Linked DNA regions of Homo sapiens: regions 1, 2, 4 and 5 are each linked to region 3. Evidence: promoter capture Hi-C in 16 types of primary human blood cells and fetal thymus (Javierre and others, 2016). All regions are on one chromosome and are shown on one strand. The core of a region is centred on a gene start or on the middle of the fragment in contact, and the rest is flanking DNA. Distances in the headings are between cores, read along the strand shown. Region 1 overlaps KLHDC3 (kelch domain containing 3). Region 2 overlaps CUL9 (cullin 9). Region 3 holds the start of LRRC73 (leucine rich repeat containing 73). Region 4 overlaps CUL9 (cullin 9). Region 5 holds the start of SRF (serum response factor).

Region 1 (2,700 bases), core at 70-2,569, 490 kb after region 3:
AGCTAATCAGGTCACACCTGTGCTGCTCACTCACCCTCACTCAATCCCTCCCTTCCAACCACTCGCTGTACCTGATATCATGAGGCAAACAGGACTGGTCTAGGTTATACTGAATCACGGCCAGTTTGCACAGAGTCTTCAGACTAGGGCCTTTAAGGGAGAAGTTGTGGAAAGGAGATGGTCAAAGGTGAGGAAAGGATCCAGTCCTGGATATCACCACCCAAAGACAGGGACCTTGATGGCAGGAGCAATTCAGGAATAACTATACTTACTAAAGTCCAAAATGTGTAAGTCAGAATGATCTATAAGGTCAAATTCATCTCCCAGGCCTTCCTCAGGAGATGGACTGTCGGGATCAAAAGAGAGATGAAAGTAGGACAAAAACTACCCACGAAACCCCCTTTTCAAATACCTCCCACTCTCCCATTAGTGACTTCCCTGAGCCCCTTCCCTCTCTCCTTCTAACCTGGTACCCCCAAAGAGGACAATCTTGTCACCAACAATACAGCAGCACTGGCGCCGGCGGGGACATGGCCCCTTCCCCTTCGGTTCAATCTTTTTCCAGGTAAAGGACACTGAAGAGAAATTTATATGGAAGTTCAATACCTGCCTAGTCCAGGTATCTTCCCCACCCCCATCCCTCACCGCCTCAGGATTATTTTCTTTTCCTCCCACCTCAATTGCTCCTTGTTCCTGCCCTAAATGCAGTGCTCTTTACCAGGATTAAACTTCCAGAGGTCATGGAAGTGCCGGTTCAGCCTTGCATTATAACCACCAAAGATGTACAGCTCCCCATTGTAGCCAACTGGAAGGAGAGAGGAAGTGTCAGGAGTGTGAAGAGGGCAGGAAGGGAACTCCACAGGGAAGTAACAAACACTCACAGGCCGAGTGGCTCCGGCGCCCCTCAGGCAGCACTGGAGTCGGGGGACAGTCCAGCCAAGCCTCAGTTCTGGTGTCAAAGACTCGAATGCGGTTGCAGTAAATCTCATTGTTGGAATGGAATGGCCCAAAGCGGTCGGCACGGCCCCCAAAGACATACATGTGACTTCCCAGCATTGTGGCTGAGTGGAAGTCCCTCCAGCGTGCAGGGCTGCCCTGGGCAGAGGCAGAGAGATGGTGGAGGGGTCAGCACAAAGACTGGAAGAGGATCTCCTCTGACTGAGCTTCCTATCATTGCTTCAACAGAGGGTGGGGATTTGGGAAAAAAAAGAAAGAGCAGACCTTTGTACAGATAAGAGTCCATGTCATGGTGCTGGTATCTAGCTTGTGAATGTCATTGGAAAAACAGTCCGCCTGAGTAGGAAGAGAAAAGGAGGAAGAAAAGAGGGAGCCAATGGTCACTCTCTGACCCTCCATCCCTCCCCTCAAAACCTGCAAACAAGCCAAAGCCTCCCATTTCACCATCCTAAATTGCCCTTCCCCTCTTTCTCAGTCCCACCCTAAACCTCTTATTTTATTCCCAGACCTACCTGCTGCTCGTAGCCCCCAAAAATGTACATGATCTTGCCTAGGACACAGGCTGAATGTCCATCCCGGGCCCCAGGAACTGTCCCTGACACTCGGGGTGTGAACCACTTGTGCGTATCTGAAGGAGATGAGAAAATGGCTCAACTAAGCACCCTCTATGACAGTCCCTCCTCAGCTCTGGGGTACTCTACTCCCCAAGACCCCCAACCCAAACCTTTCTTGGGCAACTGAGGCAACATCTGGAAGGACATAGCCTCTCTGAGATCCATACTCACTGACGTCAAAGGCATAGAGCACATTGCAGGCCCCTTCGGTGTCATTCCGCCCGCCCCAAAGGAGGACTGTGTCGTCGATGAGGACGGTTGAGTGTCCATAGCGCATGTAGGGTACCACAGGAGCTTGCCCACGGATGGCAGACTTCACCGGGGGCAGCTTTGTCCAACGCAAGGACACTGTGGGCACAGCTCTGCTCAGCCCTGGGAACCTCCCTCCAGGCTGTCCACTTTTCCCAAACCAGATGTTTGTCCCCAATCCCCTTGGTCCCAGAGACCACAGCCAAACCTCATCAGCAGCCCGTTCCCACCCTGATGTGGGGACCCAGGGACAGCCCCAGCATTGGCTTACCTGCATTGAAAATGTGCACATCTATCTGACGCAGTGTCTCATAGTCTTCACCAGAGCAGTAACCCCCGAAGGAGTATACCCGATGCCCGACAGCCACTGCAGCATGGTTCACCCTGCGGGGCCCGCCCTCCAGGTGCACTGTCCACCGTAACATCCCCTGGGCCACTGGTTACAGCAACATGCCCCCCCGGCACGGCCTGCTGCCTCTGCTATCTGCACACAAATTGGGGCCACGGGATCCTCAGGCGAGGCTTCTGCCCAGCTCACTGTGACTCTGCCCAGAACCAGCCTTTGCCTCCAAGTGTCACCCTGGGGGCCCTCCCACACTACCCCTCCACAGGGGCACTAGTCTCAGCTCAGGTGGCTGGCCCTGCCCCAAGGGAGCTGCCGAGGTCAGGGAGCAGCCTGGGCCCAGTGTTCTCCAACAGTGAAGGGTGGGGCCACCCCCACCTGATTGCCAGCTCAGAATCTGCATATCATGGTCACAACCTACTCGTGGAGGCTCCACTCTGTCCCTGGCTTGGCACAAACTTGAAGCCCCCTTCCCAAACGGTATATTCTCTTGTCTCTGCTCTGCTTACTGCCACCTCTCTAAGAATCTGTGTTCTT
Region 2 (2,700 bases), core at 47-2,546, 300 kb after region 3:
AAATTATTTAGTTCCTCAGTTATATTAGCCACATTCCAAGTACTTAATTGCCACCAATGACTATCATACTGAACGGTGCAGAAAAGAATTTTTCAATCATTGCAGAAAGTTCTACTGGATAGCACTGTTAAACTATTTTAACCTTCTAACAAAATAGCCAAAAAATATATATACAGTTAAACCAGTATGATTAGCGGTTTTAAAAAATTCACCATCATAGTGGTAGATTTTAGCACACCTCTCTCAGTAGTAGATCAAGTAGACAAAAACTAGTAACTTTACAGAAGATGTGAACAAAACAATTAACAAGGTCAATTTGGTGAAATATGTAGAATCCAGTTAAGAATACACATTCTTCTTAATCATACATGAAACAGGTAAAATATGACCATCTACCAGGCCATAACGAAGTCTCAATAAACTGCAAAGATTCAGAATCATAGAAACCATGCTCTTTGGCCACAGGGGAATGAGGTTAGAAATATAAAACAAAAAAAAATTAAACAAAGAAAAACTTGTTTGGAAATTAAAATATATATTCTTCTGAAAAACAAAATAAAGAAATAATAATAGAAATTTAACAATTCTTAGAACTAAACAATAATAAAAATAATACGTAATAAAAACTTACAGAACATCCCAAATGCCCATAAACAGCAGAAAGGGTAAATACATCCATACAATGGAATATGACTCAGCAAAATAAATGAATAAACTAATGATACCCTTGACAACCTGAATAACCCTCACAGACAGTATGTTTCGTGAAAGACATCAGACACAGCAGAATACTGTATGATTCCATTTATATGATGTTCAAATACAGGCACAAATCTATGGTGATAAAGGTTAAAAATAATGATTTCTCCTGGAAGAAGACATTGACTGGAAAGGGGGCATGAAGGAGACAGCCTTCTACGATGCTGGAAATGTTCTGTATCTTGATGGGGGTATGAGGGAGGTAGATACATGGGTGTATATGAATATAATAATTCATGAAGCCTTATAATTAAGACGTGTGCACTTTACTGAATACTAGTTATATCCCAATCTAAAAAATCTTTTTGGCCGGGCACAGTGGCTCACTGAGGCGGGTGGATCACCTGAGGTCAGGAGTTTGAGACCAGCCTGGTTAACATGGTGAAACCCCGTCACTACTAAAAATACACAATTAGCCGGGTGTGGTGGCATACGCCTGTAGTCCCAGCTACTTGGGAGGCTGAGACAGGAGAATCGCTTGAACCCGGGAGGTAGAGGCTGCAGTGAGCAGAGATTACACCACTGCACTCTGGTCTGGGTGACAGAGTGAGACTCCATGTCAAAAAAATAAAGAAAAAAAATCTTTTAAAACTTTATAGGATGCCACTAAAGCAGTATTGAGAGGGAAATGAATAGTCTTAAACACTTTTATTTGGAAAAAAGTCTGAAAAGACTAAAAATCAAATAAGCACCTCACTTGAAGTTAGAAAAAGAAAACAGAACAAATTCATAGAAAGTTGAAGAAACTGATGAGAGCAGAAATTAATGAAACTACAACCCATGCTTTCTCATCCCTCGCTAGGAGCTGATATTTTTCTTCACATCTATATCCTGTCCAAAGGTCCTCTCCTCTTCCTCTCTTGCCACCCCGAATCTCACCCCGATCTCCAATTTCCTCTCCCTAGTTCCTCACTCTGGCTGTAGAAACTGGAGAAACGGTCAAGGGCATCACAGAATTCTGTGGGAAGGCACTTTCTGGGATGGTACAGGTAGCAGAGTGGGGAGACGGGCCAGCAGCGTGGTGACAGGACCAGTATAGAAATGGCTGGACTTGGATCTTCGATAAATAATTCTTTCTCAGCTTCCTCTTCCTCCTCTTCCTCCTGAGGGACAGAAGGATTTCAAGGGCCCTTGGGCTCCCTTCCTTGGTCTAGTCTTCTCTCACTCTCCTATTCTCCCTGCTCTTACCTCCTCTTCCTCTAGTCTCTTTTCCTCCTCATCTTCCTGCTCCAAGAACAACTTGTCGAGCCGCTGGAGCTGGAAGAGGTGGAACTGGCGCTGCAGCTCCTCAGAGGTGCTCAGGCTCTGCAGCATCAGCTGTGGGAGGCGGTTGGGAAAACAGAGGCCAATCTGCTCTAGCACAGCCCCCTCCAGCCAGCTCGAACCAAAGCTCAGGAGACGGTCCGCCATATAATGCCTGCAGCACACACAGCCCGGGCCAAGCCTCAGTGTGGGTGCCAGCGTGGCCCAGCCTCCCCCTCGAGAATGTAGGTCCCTCTGTCCCTCTGCCTGAGTCACATACCCTACCTCACCTCTTCTTTCCCACTCCCTTTCCACCAATGCATGACCACCTCCACTTTTTTTTTTTTTTTTTGAGACGGAGTCTTGCTCTTGTCACCCAGGCTGAAGTGCAATGACGTGGTCTTGGCTCACTGCAACCTCTGCCTCCCGGGTTCAAGAGATTCACCTGCCTCACCCTCCCGAATAGCTGGGATTACAGGTGCCTGCCACCACGCCACCACACCTGGCTAATTTTTGTATTTTTAGTAGAGAAAGGGTTTCACCATGTTGGTCAGGCTGGTCTTGAACTCCTGACCTCAGGTGATCTGCCTGCCAGAATGCTGGGATTACATGCGTGAGCCACCGCGCCTGGCCAGCCATCTCCACATCTTAATCTCTCCTCTACACAGCCTCTTTTCTCATCTCCCCTATAAGACTCAA
Region 3 (2,700 bases), core at 174-2,673:
CAACAGTGGTAATGTCATATGTTCCCTTCTTCATATCCTCACCCAGGCAAGATAAAGGTGGGACAGGCCAGACTACATAGAAGGCAGTGATTGAATATCACACCTGACCCATGAAGCGGCAGGGAGGCCTCAAGCACAAAAGCCATAAGCCTGATGGAACACTGCAGCCAGCTTGAGTCTGGGCTCAGCTGCTCTCTTGGGAAGCCAAGGAAGCAGTGACAATTGAACAAAACATCCCGACTTAAACCCCGTGTCAAAACAAGGATCTTCTGCACCTGGGCATTGTGTTGATAATTTTCCTGTGGAGCTCTTAATTGAAGCCAAATTTGGCTTTGCCTTGGTGGTACTGGGGCCAGCTCCTTTTAGTTTTTCTGTCTTTCCTCTTAAAACCAACCACCACTCCTAACATAGCACCATCCACCCCCACCACCTCTTTAATATGCTCCACTTAATAAGTTAATTCAGGTGGCTAAGAGTGGGAATAGGGCCTTTGACCTCCCTTCACTATATTGAATATTATATTTTATGTAAAATAATCATCTTAACACTAGTAAATCTGGGTCAGCAGCATCTATCCCTCCTAACAAAGGGACAAACAGAGGTGCCCTTCATTTGTCCTGCGTTACACAAGTGAGTCCCCCACCACCCTGGCCAGAGGACAAAGTTGAGACAGCACCGCCTGCACCGTGCAGTGTGGCTCAGCCGCCTTCACGTCCTCACCAGTGCTCCAGGGCCCTGGCCCTGGCACCTTCTTTGTATTGGCTGCCCCAGTCTCGCGGCACGGACACACCCTCAGATGTCAACAGTGCCCTGCGTACCTGAGAAGGTGTGGCACCAGGACCTTGCATCTATCTGAGGCTCCCCTGCCCTAGGGACCCTATGGGGTACCCTTCTCCCCAGCAGCTCAAGCTGGCTCTGCCCAGCCGTGGCCCCTGGGGCCTCCCTGATGAGGCCGCCATCTTGGCGAGGAGCAAGCGGGGAAGTCCCCATGGGCCGGGATCACCACGCACGCTGCGCCTCGAGTCACGGGGGCGGGAGCGAGGCGCGGCGCGGATGAAAGGGCCCTGGGGCCTTCCAAATAGGAGGGAACAGTGCCCTGGATTCCGGCGGGGGTATGGACCTTAGGAACGGGGAAGGATGGAAGAATGGGCAGAAGCAGCAGTAACCGTGCCCAACGCCATCTCCACGGGGCGTGCCTCCATTCCGCTCCCCGTCAGCCCTACCCACTCAGCCCTGCCGCCTGCCGCCTGCCAGTTGGCTGACCCCACTCCCAAGGGAAGAGCGGCCTATCGCTCCCAGCTCCTTGCCCCGAACCACCCAGTGTACGCGAACCTCGCGGGCCGGCGTGGCCTTGGCCGGGCAGGGGGCGGGGCGAGCGCCGGTGACGCGGCCGTTGCCATGGGAACTCGCCGCCCGCTCGCTCTCTGGAGCTGGAGCCGGAGCTGCCGCCAGCCGCCCGCCTCAGGCTCTCTCTGCCAGCCGTGCGGCCAGGCCCGCGGGGTGGTCGGGGGGAGCCGGGCGGCAGAGAAGGAGGGAGCGGGTACGGCCTCCTAGCCGAGACCGGTAAGCCGAAGCCCTTGAGCCGCTCGCTGCCGCTGCCGCCGCCGCCGCCGCGACCGCGAGGGACAAGGACAAGCGCCGAGCAGCGCCTGCCCAACCCCCGGAACGCGCACCCGCCCCAACGCCCAGACACGGACCGTGCGGGCCGCCCCCGCCCCAGCGCCGCCCCACTTCAGCCCGGCCCGCGCCCTGGACGCCTCCGCACCTCTGGCCGGCTCCGGCTCAGTCCCGGTAGCTCTTCTCCGCCCCCGCCGCAGCCTCCGCCGCAGCCGCAGCCTCCGCCACAGCCGCCGCCTCCACCCCCGGCCCCACTCCGCCCGCGACCCCTGCCGGGGCCCCGACCCCGGCCCTATCCCCGGCCCCGCCCGCGGCCCCACCAACCTCCGTTCCGGCCCCGTACCCGGAGGCCCAGCCGTGGGCACGATGCTGCCCAGCTCCATCCAGATTTCGGGGGAGCCGCTGTCCGGCGCCGAGGTGCGGGACATCTGCCGCGGCCTTCGCGACAACGCCGTGCGCCTGCTCTCACTGCGCGGCTGCCGCCTCTGCGACCGCGACTTTGGCCGCATCTGCCGGGCCCTGGCCGGGGCCACGTCCCTGGCGCAGCTCAACCTTAACCTGGGCGTCGTGTCCAGCCCCAGCCGCATCAAGCAGCTGGCTGAGGCTCTGCGGACCAACCGCTCCATCCAGTCCCTCTTGTGAGTGCGCCCCCTCGCAAGGGGGTCCCGGGCACTGCACCCTTCCATACACTCCCCTGGCACCTCCTGTTCCTCCACACTCCTTCCAGTACCATCCTACCTTCACATGCCTTATGCACATACACCGTGCCTCGGCCCATGCCTTCACAGCACCCTCCAAGCACATGCTTGGACTTTGCACGCGCGACCCTAGCCGTGTTGGGATACCCACCAGTTCCTGACATGAGGTGGGGGCCGTACCTCCCCACCTAATCATCTGCATTTACTTCACTGGGGCAGCTCCTTGGTTCCCAAGGGGGAATATCCCCGTGGGGACGAGAGCCCTGCCCACTGCAGAGTTCCGGTCCACCACCCACCCACCCCTTCTCTGCCCCTCCCTGTGCAATGTCCTGGATCCCTGCCCCAGAAAACAAACCGAATTCTCCCTCTATCTGTATTCCCTGAG
Region 4 (2,700 bases), core at 52-2,551, 320 kb after region 3:
ATAGATTAAAAAAGACGACAATATTCAGTGTTGGCAGACGTAAGGAAAAACAGACGCGTTAGAACACTGCACTTGAAACTGGAGATAACCACACTGCAGGGTCCCATGCAGCAGTAAAAATAATGAGGCAGCTCCACCCAGACTGATATGGAAAGCCCTCTAAGACACTGAGCGGGGGCAAAAAAAAAAAAGTTGTAGAAACATGTAGAATGTGATTACATAGACTAAAACAAAGACTCAGAAAATGCTCTATTTCCAAACACACAATTACAAATGCAAATCTGTAGGATATAGTAGACTGATAACAGTGGTGAGAAAGGACTTTGGCCCTCCTATGTCCTTTTACATTCTTCAGATCTTTTAAAATGAGAATGCGGCTGGGCATGGTGGCTCACACCTGTAATCCCAGCACTTTGGGAGACTGGATCATCTGAGGTTAGGAGTTCGAGACCAGCCTGGCCAACAGGGTGAAACCCCGTCTCTACTAAAATACAAAAATTAGCTGGGCCTGGTGGTGGGCACCTGTAATCCCAGCTACTTGGGAGGCTGAGACATAAGAACTGCTTGAACCCAGGAGGCGGAGGTTGCAGTGAGCCAAGATCACACTATTGCACTCTAGCCTGGGTGACAGAGTGAGACTCTGTCTCAAAAACAAGTAAATAAATAAAAATAAATAAATAGAATGAGAATAAGTTGTGTGTTATTTGTATAATTTAAAAGTAGAGGGCTGGACGCGGTGGCTCACGCCTGCAATCCCAGCACTTTGGGAGGCCGAGGCAGGCAGATCACGAGGTCAGAAGATCGAGACCATCCTGGCAAACATGATGAAACCCTGTCTCTACTAAAAGTACAAAAATTAGCTGGGTGTGGTGGTGCCTGTAATCCCAGCTACTTGGGAGGCTGAGGCGGGAGAATCCCTTGAACCCGGGAGGCAGAGGTTGCAGTGAGCCGAGATCGCGCCACTGCACTCCAGCATGACGACATAGCAAGACTGTCTCAAAAATAAATAAATAAAGGTAGAAAAAAATTTAAAATAAAGTAGGTTTTAAGGTCTAATGTGAAAAAAAAAAAGTACGTAGGGACAGAAAAAAAAGAAAAAGAAAGAGAAAAAACTCCAGTTCTAGAGCCAAAAAGACCTAGGTTTGAATCCTGGCTCTGCTATCTGTAAAACTCTAAGCAAGTTACTTAAATTCTCTAAGCTTCAGTTTCCTCACCCATATAGTAGGATAATAATATTACCAACGCTTCCTCAGGTGTTAGGTGGATTTAATGAGAGAATGCATGTAAAATACTAGCACAGTGCCTGGCATAACAGAAGTGCTCCAAGAATACGAGCCATTAAAACATCCAACCCTCCTGCTCGGCTGCTCCTCAGGCTGAGCCTTCCCTCACCCCAAGCTTTTCTAATTCGTGATCTCAAAGCTCCTTCCCCGCTACCACCATCCTTTGCCTACAGCTTCAACCAAAACCTCTTCCCTCCCCAGTATGCTAACCTCAGCGATCTGTCAGGACGGACCAGAGGGTGGTCCCGCTCAGTGACCTCCTCCACAGCCTGAGAGAGGGCAGAGAGCCCTGAAAGCTGCAGGTTTGTGTCCAAGCTGGATATCTGCACAGTGGCCACGACCGCTGCCACATGCTGATCCAGGGAGCTGCGAGGACCGGGACCCCGCAAGGCTCTGGCCATTTCTGAAATTGGTGGGAAAAGGCAATGGCTAAAAGAACTGTGGCACCTTGAAGTTAGAAGTCTTTAAAGTCAAGCCCAGTTATCCTACCAATATTTAAACACATTATCGGCTACTGCAGCTTGCAGAGTTTTCCAATTCTGTGTCAGGGATCTAATGATCAAACAAAGGAGATGAAGACACCCCAGAAAACGGATCCTCCTTTTCCAGAGATACTGAAGGAAGGGAGCGCTGGTTAATTAAATACAATCAAGGTCAAAAGGAAGAAGATGGACGCATGGTTCCAAGGCATTTTCCCCTGCAAAAATCACCTTCCTCCATGGCTTTCCTTCGATCCTGACTATCCATTTCTTCTACTGAGACTACCCAGGACTTGTTCCAATTGCTTCCTCCCAGAACCTGACTCACCACTGGCTGCCTCCTTCATCTCAGTGGGCAGGGTCATCCCCTCAGTCACCAGAAGCTGGTTAAACAGCTGAGAATCACTCTGTGCCATGGGGGTCTCGGTCCTTGTCTTGGTGGGCTCGGCCTCTGTCTTAGGGGCCTCGGCCTTTGCTTTGAGGGACTCAGTCTCTTCCTCTGAGAAGCTGGCCTCCGACTTGGACTCCTCTTCTGGATCTGGGGTACAGGAGTGATTTCGTGAAGTAGACGAGCTGCTTGGTTCATTAGACAGCAGCCCATACTTGGTGTAGATCTGGGAGTTGAGCAGGTCATTGAGAGTGCTGCCCTCAAATCGACTACTGAGAACCTGCAGCAGACTCTCGGCCATTTCCACGGACACAGAGATCTCACCTAGGGCCTTTTCACCCAGGGTCTGTCAACAGAAGGGGTATACGTTTAAGAGACAAGCAGACACAAAGGTCTTGGGGTCAGTAATGGGAAGGGTGATCACTCCCTACCATGCCCCCACACCTTCTACATACTAGACCCTCACAGCACTTGCCTCCAACCCCCAGCAGGACTCCTCCTAACTCTAATCTCTAGCTCCAGCCTCCCCCTAAGCGGTAACCCCTATCTG
Region 5 (2,700 bases), core at 103-2,602, 340 kb after region 3:
GCTCATTGTTGTCATGCAGCTCCAGCCTCCTCACCTCCATACCTTCTCGTTTGCTCCCTGCTTTTCCGGCGCCCTCGTCCGAACACCGGAGTGCACTGGACCTACTGATCCCGGGTTCTCATTATCCACCTCCCCGGCAGCCTCGTAGCCTCCCATCACCGCTCCTCACCCCTTCACTCAGCAAGGGCCCTCTTCCTCTCTGGCGCCGGTCACTCCCACCTCTGCGCCTTTCCCCACGGTTGCGAGCGTTCGCGGGATCTCCCCTCTCCCCACATTTCCCCGGCGGCCCCTCCCCTTCGGCCCTCCCCGGGCAGGAGCCATCCCCTCCCACACACCTCCTGCGGACTCGCAGCCTCTCACCTCCGCCTCGGCTCTGCGGTCCTCCCGGGCTCCCTTTGCACATCCCCACCCCAACCGGGCCCCGGGGCCGGCCAGCCCCCCGGCTTGGTACCTTCTTCATGATGCCCGTCTTCCTCTTGCTGAAGGTCGTGTAGCGCCGCAGCTTGTTGTCGATGAACTCCATCTTGATCTTCACGCGGCCCCGGGTCTTCTTACCCGGCTTGGCCCCGCTCACCGCGCCGCTCACCGGCCCGTAGCCCCCGGTGGCCGCTGCCGACGCCTCGGGCCCACCGACCACCATACCGATCTCCATCTCGCTCAGGCTCCGCTTCAGGCCGCGCCGCTCGGCGCCCAGCTCCTCCTCCTCGCCCGACTCCGAGTCGCCCTCGCTGCCGCTGTAGAGGGCCCCCGCGGTGGGCGCCGGGGTGGTTGCCGCCGCTGCCGCAGCCTCCCGCTCCAGGCGGCCGGGCCCGAGCCCCGCGCCATTCCCGGGGACCCGGCCCCCGTTAGCCCCGCGTGTCCCGCCGCCGCCGCCCGGCCGCCCCGTCGGGGTCCGGTTCAGGCTGCCCCCCAGGGCCGAGCCCCGGCCCAGAGCCGCCGCGGCCCCAGCTTGGGTCGGTAACATGGCGCTCGATGCAGGAGGGCGGACGGGCAGTCAGCGAGGAATCGGAGCCGCCGCAGCCGCCGCCATCGGCTTCCCGGCTCAACCCGGCACTCCCGCTGCTGCTAGTGCCGCTATCGCTGCCGCGGCCGCCGCTGCGAACCCGGGGCCCCTGCACGCCCGGGCCGACCTGGGCCCTCACTTTCCTGCCCCTGTGGCCCGGGTTGCCCCAGGCCGCGCGCAGCGCCCCCTGTCCGTCTGCTAGGGCGGCGCGCCGGGCGGCCGTCAGCGTCCCCCGGGGGGCAGGGGCTGCTGGCCGCGGCCGAGACGGCGGGTGGAGGGGGCCGGGACCACGCGCTGGCGGCGGAGGGATCCCCCGACCCTTCCCCCCATATAAAGAGATACAATGTTTCCTTTTATGGCGAGGCCGCTCCTTATATGGTGAGCCCCAGCGCCCCCGCCCCATTGGTCCGTGGTTCCGGCACCTCCGCTCCCCATTGGCCCACAAGAGGGCGCTTATTTGCATAGACATACCGAACTCGTTGCTGTCATCTCGCGTCAGACCGCGACTCTGAGAGGGGTGGAGCCGACGCCTCTTAAAGGAACCGGAGAGCAGGCACGATTCCGCCTCCCTGAACCCGAGAATGATAGAACGGTTTGGGAGGCACCCGCGGAGAAGGAGGCTGGGACTGGAGCGCAGTCTTGCGGAAGAGAGGGAGCAGCACTAGTAAATGGGCACCGGGACCGCTGGAGGCAAACACTGGGGAAACCCCTGGGTGGATTGTGGGGTTTGCAGTAAATAAAAAAATACAGCCCAAATTCCAAGGGAGGAGTGCAGGGATTGATTGGAGCATTTCCTCACGCCTTCCTAAGGGAGGCACAGTTATTGGCTGAGCGGAGAGAGCTTGGGTCCCCGCCCGGTGTCCAGACTCGTCGCGCCCCAGCCTCTCAGCTCTAACTTTTCCCCTACCCCCAACTTCCCTTCCCTTTCCCTCGCTTTTGTAGGCGACGAAACTTTCCCACCGGGCTGGCTCGAGGATCTTCATTCATCATCCTCTGCACTGGGGGGTCTTTGGCAGACATACATCTGGAAAAGGCTGGTGGAGGGGAGGGCGAGAGAGAGAGATCGGCCTCCCAGTCCTGAGGCGGGCAGGGAGGAGAGACGGAGATCAGGGAGGAGAGATGGAGATCAGTGAAGACTTCCAGCTGCAGGCTGGACTTGGGGAGGAGGACGTCCCGAGGATAAAGCCCACCCTACAGCCAGTGCAAAGACTTGGGAAAGTGTGGCCCGACAGAAAGTTTAAGCCCAAGCAAGCACGCTCGCGCACACACACGCACATACACACACTTCTCTGGAAAGCCCGTTGGAGAAAAAAAAAAAAGTTTCACACAGGGTATCGCTCTGTCGCCCAACCTGGAGTGCAGTGGCGGGATCTGAGCTCATTGCAACCTCTGCCTCCCGGGTTCAAGCGATTCTCCCACCTCCGCCTCTCACGTAGCTGGAACTACAGGTGCGCGCCACCACTCTGGCCTAATTTTTGTATTTTTTGTAGAGATGGGGTTTTGCCATGTTGCCCAGACTGGTTTCGAACTCCTGGCCTCAAGCGATCCTTCCCCCTCGGCTTCCCAAAGTGCTGGGATTATAGGCATGAACCACCGTGCCCAGCAGAAAAAAAAAAAAAAAAAAAAAAAAACTTAAAAGATTAGAACTGGGGTGCTGCAAAGTGAGGTTCAAGCTCTGGGTCTGGGTCTTTTCTCCA

Evidence for each region. Contacts are between HindIII fragments. The CHiCAGO score rates a contact against its expected background, and 5 or more counts as called.
Region 1: a contact is called between a fragment that was not itself captured here and the fragment with the promoter of LRRC73 in region 3, in 1 of 17 cell types (naive B cells). The highest score is 5.6, in naive B cells.
Region 2: a contact is called between a fragment that was not itself captured here and the fragment with the promoter of LRRC73 in region 3, in 1 of 17 cell types (naive B cells). The highest score is 5.8, in naive B cells.
Region 4: a contact is called between a fragment that was not itself captured here and the fragment with the promoter of LRRC73 in region 3, in 10 of 17 cell types (naive B cells, endothelial precursors, total B cells and 7 more). The highest score is 7.1, in naive B cells.
Region 5: a contact is called between the fragment with the promoter of SRF here and the fragment with the promoter of LRRC73 in region 3, in 8 of 17 cell types (megakaryocytes, endothelial precursors, erythroblasts and 5 more). The highest score is 6.2, in megakaryocytes.

The regions. Positions count from the first base shown.
Region 1 is chr6:43,016,738-43,019,437 of GRCh38, reverse strand. KLHDC3 (kelch domain containing 3) reads right to left here. Exons shown (of 11, transcript NM_057161.4): 2 at 2,092-2,304; 3 at 1,743-1,919; 4 at 1,470-1,585; 5 at 1,222-1,293; 6 at 882-1,095; 7 at 719-805; 8 at 467-575; 9 at 273-346; 10 at 72-150. The coding sequence starts at 2,245. It also overlaps a transcript of MEA1 not described here. Among named protein-coding and RNA genes, the nearest start is that of RRP36, 3.5 kb to the left of the region's middle. The HindIII fragment of the contact is 2,971 bases long and covers 1-2,700 here.
Region 2 is chr6:43,205,483-43,208,182 of GRCh38, reverse strand. It overlaps CUL9 (cullin 9), which reads right to left. Exons shown (of 41, transcript NM_015089.4): 25 at 1,948-2,176; 26 at 1,673-1,862. Among named protein-coding and RNA genes, the nearest start is that of DNPH1, 23 kb to the left of the region's middle. The HindIII fragment of the contact is 3,481 bases long and covers 1-2,700 here.
Region 3 is chr6:43,509,069-43,511,768 of GRCh38, reverse strand. LRRC73 (leucine rich repeat containing 73) reads left to right here and starts at 1,423. Exons shown (of 6, transcript NM_001012974.4): 1 at 1,423-2,255. The coding sequence starts at 1,984. RefSeq lists silencers at 1,266-1,555, 1,576-1,845. The HindIII fragment of the contact is 9,076 bases long and covers 1-2,700 here.
Region 4 is chr6:43,187,509-43,190,208 of GRCh38, reverse strand. It overlaps CUL9 (cullin 9), which reads right to left. Exons shown (of 41, transcript NM_015089.4): 7 at 2,091-2,496; 8 at 1,494-1,686. Among named protein-coding and RNA genes, the nearest start is that of CUL9, 6.7 kb to the right of the region's middle. RefSeq lists an enhancer at 2,630-2,700. The HindIII fragment of the contact is 199 bases long and covers 1,202-1,400 here.
Region 5 is chr6:43,169,921-43,172,620 of GRCh38, reverse strand. SRF (serum response factor) reads right to left here and starts at 1,352. Exons shown (of 7, transcript NM_003131.4): 1 at 452-1,352. The coding sequence starts at 964. RefSeq lists enhancers at 1-133, 1-392, 1,419-2,148 and a silencer at 864-1,443. The HindIII fragment of the contact is 6,652 bases long and covers 1-2,700 here.